Linked DNA regions of Homo sapiens: regions 2 and 3 are each linked to region 1. Evidence: promoter capture Hi-C in human tissues and cell types (Jung and others, 2019). All regions are on one chromosome and are shown on one strand. The core of a region is centred on a gene start or on the middle of the fragment in contact, and the rest is flanking DNA. Distances in the headings are between cores, read along the strand shown. Region 1 holds the start of NALCN (sodium leak channel, non-selective). Region 2 overlaps NALCN (sodium leak channel, non-selective). Region 3 overlaps NALCN (sodium leak channel, non-selective).

The links. Contacts are between HindIII fragments. The study calls those that stand out against the background at their distance.
Region 2: a contact is called between a fragment that was not itself captured here and the fragment with the promoter of NALCN in region 1, in 2 of the 25 tissues and cell types used here (H1 embryonic stem cells and dorsolateral prefrontal cortex).
Region 3: a fragment that was not itself captured here is called in contact with the fragment with the promoter of NALCN in region 1 in 2 of the 25 tissues and cell types used here (mesenchymal stem cells and small bowel).

The regions. Positions count from the first base shown.
Region 1 is chr13:101,415,187-101,417,886 of GRCh38, reverse strand. It overlaps NALCN (sodium leak channel, non-selective), which reads left to right and starts at 1,379. Exons shown (of 44, transcript NM_052867.4): 1 at 1,379-1,574. RefSeq lists enhancers at 1,477-2,027, 2,028-2,578. The HindIII fragment of the contact is 15,657 bases long and covers 1-2,700 here.
Region 2 is chr13:101,234,532-101,237,341 of GRCh38, reverse strand. The region is part of intron 12 of NALCN (sodium leak channel, non-selective); the gene reads left to right. Among named protein-coding and RNA genes, the nearest start is that of NALCN, 180 kb to the left of the region's middle. The HindIII fragment of the contact is 6,808 bases long and covers 1-2,810 here.
Region 3 is chr13:101,159,390-101,162,214 of GRCh38, reverse strand. The region is part of intron 15 of NALCN (sodium leak channel, non-selective); the gene reads left to right. Among named protein-coding and RNA genes, the nearest start is that of LINC00411, 220 kb to the right of the region's middle. The HindIII fragment of the contact is 6,967 bases long and covers 1-2,825 here.

The sequences.
Region 1 (2,700 bases), core at 130-2,629:
GGAATAACACACTATCATTCAGCTACCATATATATATAGCTATATATTTCAGTTTGTGAAATAAACTAGTATTTAGAACAAGCAATTGAAAGCCGCAAATAAAGATGATGAAACAAGTTGGTAAATACTTTTTCTAAGCAAACTGGTTGTAGATTTAGCATTGTTTAAATTACTGTCAATTTTTTCTTATGAGGAGTGATTTCATCATTTGTTTAAAACCTGGCTTTTGACACAGTTTTTCTGAAGTCTTTAGAAATTTGAAAAATTATCTCGCATGACTCTGTATTTCATGAAATACCAATATTTTAACATTTCCCTGTAAACAATAAAACGTACTAATATGGATTATGAATGTGAACAAATTGTGAATGGACTTTTTAAGAAAGTAGATTAATTAAATATCTGTAACCAGAAAATACATTTTTAAAATGTAGGTTTGTGTAGTTTTACTTCTATACCTTGCCACATAACATTTTGTGATAGACAAATGCTCTTTGTTTAGAATTTCTCTTGTAGAGAAAGCTTCATTCAGTTGTTTCTTTCCCTTTATTTATATGCCTGTGTGCATGATGTCTAAATCACTGGTCAGGAGTTCCCTGGGGATTTTCGTATCTGACTACATGGCAAGATTCCAGACCCAAAGTAAACCTTTCAGAGAGTGGGAATGAGTGGGAGGATGTCGCCCTGGGCATGGTGCTTAGGAGGCCAGATTTCCCTAAACCTGCTCTGCTGGGAGCCCTAGGAAGCCTCAGATGCAGTCTGCTGTCCAGGTATACTCACAGGGTATGGGGTGGGGGACTGTCAATTTCTGAATAGACTTTGTCTCATCCACACGACAACATATTTTAATTTTAAAGGCGAACGTCAACCTATTTAGAAAACTATAAGTGTGACTGATGCATTCATTATTTAATAACTCCGGGGTGAAACTTGAGGTGAACGGTTTCACCCTTTCATACTCAGGAATGGAACTAGTCCTCGGTACCGTGCACAGTCTGACCTCACGCTCGCACGCTGGGCTCCCGGCCTCCTGGCAGTGCACTTAAGTGTACCCCGCGTGTGCCCGGCGGACTCCCGTGCACACCGCCGCCGTGCTGTTGAGTACGAAAGACCCCCGAGAGGAGCTCGCAGATGAGAGCCTAGCTGTTGCTGTGAGACTGACTGCGGGTGGCAGCCGGCAAGAAGGAACTGCCAGTACCGACCCTGGCGCTCCCCACCAACTGCGGCGCAGCCTCCTCTGCGGTGCCCGCCCTTCGGCATCACTGCAGTCCCTGTAGCAAAGCTAACTTTAAAAATTTAAATAAAATAATAATTTTTTAAAGGCCCGAAAACTCCGGCTCCCACCCCTCCCCCAGCCTGCCCGGCGGCGGCGGCGCTCAGTGAGTGACACGGCGAGCGTGAGCCGCGGCCCCAGCCGGGCCGAGCGCGCTGCCTGAGCTGAGCCGCCGTAGGTGAGGGGCCCGCGTCCCCGCCCGCCCTGGGCGCCGCGCCTGGCACTGATCCTGCCGGTCGCCCACTGTCGCCGCCGCCGCCGCCCGCGGGCACCATGACAGCTCTGAGCGCTGGGGTTACAGGTTGGTCACCGCCGCCGGTGCCCGGGAGGCTGCGGCGCGGCCGGCTCCGTGCCCTGCGCCCGAGGCCCGCGATGCGCGCTCGTTAGTTCCTTGGCCGGTCCGGGCCAGGACGGCTCAGGGGCGCTGGGGCTGCGAGAGGGGCTGCTAGAGGGGCTGCGGGCGGGGGCCCCGCGCGGGGGAGGGGTGGGGAGGGGCGCCTCCACCCGAGAGCGGGGCGGTGGGGTCCTTGCCGGCCTGGCCGGGGCGCGGGAGCCGCGATGCGCCCTCCCTATTCCTGCGCGTGGGTGTCGGGGGCGCCTGCCGCGGGATGCCCCTGGGCTGGCTTGGGAAGCCCAGGGCCGGCGACACCTCGGGCCTGCCCCGCCTGGGCATCTAGCAGGTGTTGGGGGGCAGGTGGCTGAGGACGAGGCCACTGGGCATCACTACAGCGCTGCACCTGCCCCCTCGGCACCAGGGCCGCTGCCTGGGTAAACCTCTGGGCCAACGCGCGGGTGGGGAGGTGGGGGTGGGCAGCCTGGCTCCAGCAGGTCTCCGCGGGGGCTCCGCGGCCTTGCCCCACCCCCATGCTCCTGTGGATTGCTCCTTGCTAAATGTCCCTTATGATATTCATTGGCCTTGTTAAGCAGCCGTCATTAGGGTGGCTACACCGAACGCAAAACAGTGTCCTGCCAAGCAACACCATTTTGTCACTGAATCTTTAAGACACCAGCAAGGATGGCCTGGCTGGGATCCCTCTGGGGGCCCAGATCGCAGTCATTTTGCTGACTTAATGTTCCTCTTTCAGGATGGTGTGAGAATGCTGAACTCAGACCCTTAGTGCTTGAAATACCTTAGAATAAATCTTTCAGTTTCAGGTACAATTTTTCAGACACTGTATTATTAAGGATGTGTGAATACACGCTCACTTTCAGGCCTCAGAAGGTTTTACTCTTAATCTGGTGTTCGTGTGGTCATCAGCTAGGCCCGACTGCCCTGGTGGTGAAATGTGGGTTGAGGACCAGTGACCTTCGTGTTAGTAGTTGGTGGATAACACCTCTAATAGGGGATCAAAAATTAACAGGTGGCGATTTTGAAATATATATGTATGTATATATATATATATATGTGTGTGATTTGTATGTTCATA
Region 2 (2,810 bases), core at 115-2,614, 180 kb after region 1:
GTGTTTGCTCAACAACGGTTTATAATGAAAATATTAAAGGTTTATAAAACTTACCTTTACAGATTGTAATTACTCATACAGTATTATTTATAAATGCCTGTTACTTCATGATGGCACTTATAATTCTTATTTAACTTGTAATAATTGGATATCTTTTTTTAAATGTGATATATTGGATCACATTGCTTTCTAATTATGCAATAAACAGTAATTATTAGTTACATTCTTTGTTATTATTGAATATAGCAACACGCTCACTGTCCTGGTAAATACTTAGTCAAAATGATAAAATATGTCTACATGGTATTCTAGTCAAAAACACCTCAAATGTAGTCATTTTCCTGATTCAAACTTGGTCATTTATTTTTTATTTTATTTTATTTTATTTTATATTATTTTATTTTTTATTTTATTTTATTTTATTATTATTATACTTTAAGTTTTAGGGTACATGTGCACAATGTGCAGGTTAGTTACATATGTATACATGTGCCATGCTGGTGTGCTGCACCCACTAACTCGTCATCTAGCATTAGGTATATCTCCTAAAGCTATCCCTGCCCCCTCCCCCCACCCCACAACAGGCCCCAGAGTGTGATGTTCCCCTTCCTGTGTCCATGTGTTCTCATTGTTCAATTCCCACCTATGAGTGAGAATATGCGGTGTTTGGTTTTTTGTTCTTGCGATAGTTTACTGAGAATGATGATTTCCAATTTCATCCACGTCCCCTACAAAGGACATGAACTCATCATTTTTTATGGCTGCATAGTATTCCATGGTGTATATGCGCCACATTTTCTTAATCCAGTCTATCATTGTTGGACATTTGGGTTGGTTCCAAGTCTTTCCTATTGTGAAGAGTGCCGCAATAAACATACGTGTGCATGTGTCTTTATAGCAGCATGATTTATAGTCCTTTGGGTATATACCCAGTAATGGGATGGCTGGGTCAAATGGTATTTCTAGTTCTAGATCCCTGAGGAATCGCCACACTGACTTCCACAAGAGTTGAACTAGTTTACAGTCCCACCAACAGTGTAAAAGTGTTCCTATTTCTCCACATCCTCTCCAGCACCTGTTGTTTCCTGACTTTTTAATGATTGCCATTCTAACTGGTGTGAGATGGTATCTCATTGTGGTTTTCATTTGCGTTTCTCTGATGGCCAGTGATGGTGAGCATTTTTCCATGTGTTTTTTGGCTGCATAAATGTCTTCTTTTGAGAAGTGTCTGTTCATGTCCTTCGCATTTATATAATTTATCATGGAAACACTAGAATGTGCATTGATTGTTTTCTAAATAGATATTGTTAAATATTTGGGAAATAAAATGACAGTAGAATTTTAAAGAAGTAATTTTGAGAAACAGGACTCTAACCCCTTAGGAAAAAGAACATGCATTGCAACTTTATTGATTTTATTTATTAGTAATACCAAAATATTATTTTCAGAACAATATTCACTTTAACTGCCAGATCACAGGTAACTAGACACTTTTAGTACCTGGGGGAAAGGACATGCAAATATAATTCACAAAAAGTAAAAAGCAAAACCCCCTACAAACCCAGGCAAAAAGCTGAGCCCTTGTAATCACAGCTAAGCATATTGAAACCACAGAGGGTTTTCATAGTTCAAGCGCTCACTTCCCTCAGCATCCGTGGATGTAAATCTCTCCTCATTTGTTGAGTTATATCCTGAAGCTTAGCTATCATAAGTGACATGGCTGGGGCAAGAGATATACATGTTTAAAACTCTTGATACAAAATGTGCTTTCCAAACATTCCTGTGATTATAAGCTCTTGTGCACTGCTCTCTAGATTCACAAAGTTATCATGGCCATTGAGTACCTACCTTAGGGCATCATTGCACATAATTATAGAGAATATCCTTTATATCAAAACAACAGCATACCTTTTTTACAAAGCTATTAAAGTAGCCAAATTAAGAAAATTGGTGTTGCCTATTTCAGCAAAGGTACAGTATAAAATATATTCAGGGCCTTAAAATTGCTATAGTCTCTGACATGCCATTTTTCAGTAAAAAGTTAGAAAATAACATTTGTGTGCAAAATATTTATTATAGAATTAATGAGAGAAAAAAGAAAACTGTTTAAATGACAAACATTTGAGGAATAGCTTAATAAGTCATAACGCGAATTTAACCATAAAATTATAATTGTGATGAGTTTTTTATAACTTAGAAATATGACTGTTTTATTTAAACGATAAACAGCATAAATTATATTATATACATAACTACATATATGTATGTATATATTTATTATATACATATGTAAAATACCTATAAAATGGAAAAAAATGACTAGAAAGAAACCAATTTATTACAAATTATTAATCATCTCTAGTTTCCTACTCTTGTCATCATGTCTGATTTTCCTACTAGTCTGTTTTTTTACAAAATATCTAATATTAGCCTGCAAGGCTGTAACCATTTTATAGATAGACAGATGATAGATAGATAGATAGGTAGATGATAGATAGATAGATAGTAGATAGATAGATAGTAGATAGATAGTCAAATCACAGTGAAGTTTGCAATTTCAGTTTTGTCTTTGATTTTGGATTATTCTGTAATTGGTTCTGTTTAATTTATGTTAATGATTAGGTGATTTTCATTTGTATCTCTCTATACATGGCCATGCTTCTCTTTTTCTAATGTATTAATAATGAATAAAAATGATCTCAGTTAATTTGTGGCTAGAAAGTAAATCTCTTGAGAAACTTAGGTGTCACAAGGGTTTTTGCAAATTTGCATGTGGAGAATCCACTGTACCAGACAGAGCGGCTCTTTGT
Region 3 (2,825 bases), core at 272-2,771, 260 kb after region 1:
GTAAAGATTGAGATGAGCTTTCTTCAGAAAATAACATCATTTAAGGAGAGACACTCGTAGAAGACCCCGACACAAATGGTGGTCAGGGGTGAGGATGAAGAAAGTTACAGGAGAGCTAAGTTTTGCAAGATGAGCCTTGTGGACTTCACGGAGGTGTGGTGGGTCAGGGGAGGGGAGCACAACTCCAGGGAGAAGGGAAAGCCTCTGTGCACCCAGAATGCAGGAAGACCAGGGTGGAGTGGTATAGAGTAAGTGTGGAAAAGTCAGCAGGGCATGAACCATGCAGTGCCTTGAGAAACACGGTAAGGTCATTTACCATTTGTTTTTTGTTTGTTTGTTTGTTTTGAGACAGTCTCACTCTGTCACCCAGGCTGGAGTGCAGTGGTACAGTCTTGGCTCACTGCAACCTCTACCTCCAAGGTTCAAGCGATTCTCCTGCCTCAGCCTCCCGAGTAGCTGGGATTACAGGCGTGCGCCACCACTCCTGGCTAATTTTTATATTTTTAGAAGAGACGGGGTTTCACCATGTTGGCCAGGCTGGTCTTGAACTCCTGACCTCAGGTGATCCGCCTGCCTTGGCCTCCCAAAGTGCTGGGATTACAGGCATGAGCCACCATACCAGCCAGAACATTTACCTTTAATGTTTACCTTTAACCTGAGCCACTGAAAGCTTATAAGATGGGAGGCAGTGGTGAACCAGAGAGCTGTTTGGAAAATAAAATCAAGAGGGACTTGGTGATAGGTTGGATTTAAAGACATGAGTGAGAGAGTCTCAAAGATGATTCCTGGTTTCAGGTTTCTACAGTTGCATGAATGAAATGTCATTAACTGAGTTAAGAAACACTAGCATACAACCGTATTTGGGGGAAACGTTCATCAACTCAGCCTTGGGCATGTTGAGTTGGTGAATCTTTCAAGATGTCTGAACAGAGATGCCTAATAGTTGTGTATAGGTCTGGAGTTCAGGGGAGAAGGATGGCTGCCTAGAGATATAAATGTGGACATTCAATGTAATTCTCAATTATTTATTCAGGTGCTGTTCTAGACATGTGGCGTAGGTCAATGAACAGAACAGACAAAAATGACTGCCTCCTTTGAGCTTCAGTCCTAGTAAAGTTCTCCATGTTTTCATAATACTGGAAGGTGTAAATCTGGATGAGATTGTATAGGGTGGGAAGAAAAAATATGCTGGAGCCTTGAGGAAGAGCAACATTTAATAACTGCTGGTGTTTGCCTTTATGGTAACTCAACCTGTCTCTGTTTTCCTCCTTGTGTATTTTCACTTTCAGTTCCATTGCAAATAGTCAACATTTTCTGTATCTCAGGTTCAAAACTTGATCAATAAGAACAGATTTGGTCGATCCAGCTAATCAATATGATTCCTTTTAGGCAGGAATTTCATCTCTGATTGCCTCGCAATGCTGGCCAGTCTTATAGAAAGTCCCTGTCTTTGGCCCGGTTTCTGGCTCAACCAGCTTTGACAAGGGTGATGAGTTACTTTGTACCATAAGGCAATTTATAAGGAAGAAACACCTTCATAAAAAAAAACAAAAACAAAACAAAACAAAAAACAGAACAGGCAGACATTTGGAGAACTCACCTGCATATTACAGAGAGATTTAATATGTTTATCTATTGCATGCCACTGTAATTTAACAGTCTAGGCAAAGGTAACAGAAAAGAGGAGCTGAGATAATCCAGCTCCTCCCCAACCACTCATTCAGGAGGAAGCAGATGTGAGTGCCATTGTAGGGTCCTGAGGGAGTATTGGTTCCCATTTCCTAGCCTGCCCCTCCTCCCCACGCTTGGTCAGTTACACCTTCATATGGCTCCTGTTCTCACTTTACCTCTCTGCTTTATGATAAGCGCAGATAAAAGGCAAGAGACACAGACAAAGCGAAAAAGAAGGAAGAGGGAAGGAAATTTAGAAGGGACCTTGCAAACATTTTCCTTCCACTGAGTGGTCCACAGGAGGAAACAATGAAAACTTCTCTCTCCTTTGGGAGGCCAAGGCGGGCAGATCACAAGGTCAGGAGATCGAGACCATCCTGGCTAACATGGTGAAACCCTGTCTCTACTAAAAATACAAAAAATTAGTCAGGCATGGTGGTGTGTACCTGTAGTCCCAGCTACTCAGGAGGCTGAGGCAGTAGAATCGCTTGAACCCAGGAGGCAGAGGTTGCAGTGAGCCGAGATCGCACCGCTGCACTTCAGCCTGGGCGACAGAATGAGACTCCGTCTCAAAATAAAATAAAATAAAAATAACAAAAAATAACAAAAAACAAAAAAAACCTTCTCTCTCACTAACAAAGAGATGTGATTTTGGAGAAATGTCTTCCCTCTCTTTCAGTTTTACCAAATCTAACTTGGGTATCTTTAGATCCGGTGTGCCCTCTTTTCTTTGATGACACGAGTCCTAACTCCTATATATTGTCTTATATGATTGTTTTATGTCATCCAAGCTGGCACTTATATCATCTCCCTGGTCTCATAGGCATTTAAATCTGGGCCCCTGCACTAGACCCTGACAAGATCTCTTCTAGATCTAAAATTCTCATCCGGGAAAGAGTCGAGAGCTGTCATTACTGGGACACCTGTAGCTGTATACTTCATTATGACAGATCTGTTGTTTATGTCCAGTGTCTCTTCTGATTTTGGGGTGTTCATGCTGCATGGTTTTCTAATATACGTAGTTCTAATATGTTCTCTGTTCATTACTGCGAATTTCTGCTCCGACCCCTGGCCACCTACACAAACCGCAATCCCCAGCATAGGCAACATGTTAGTAACCACCCGGAGGGGGCGACTGCAAGCCATGATGAAGA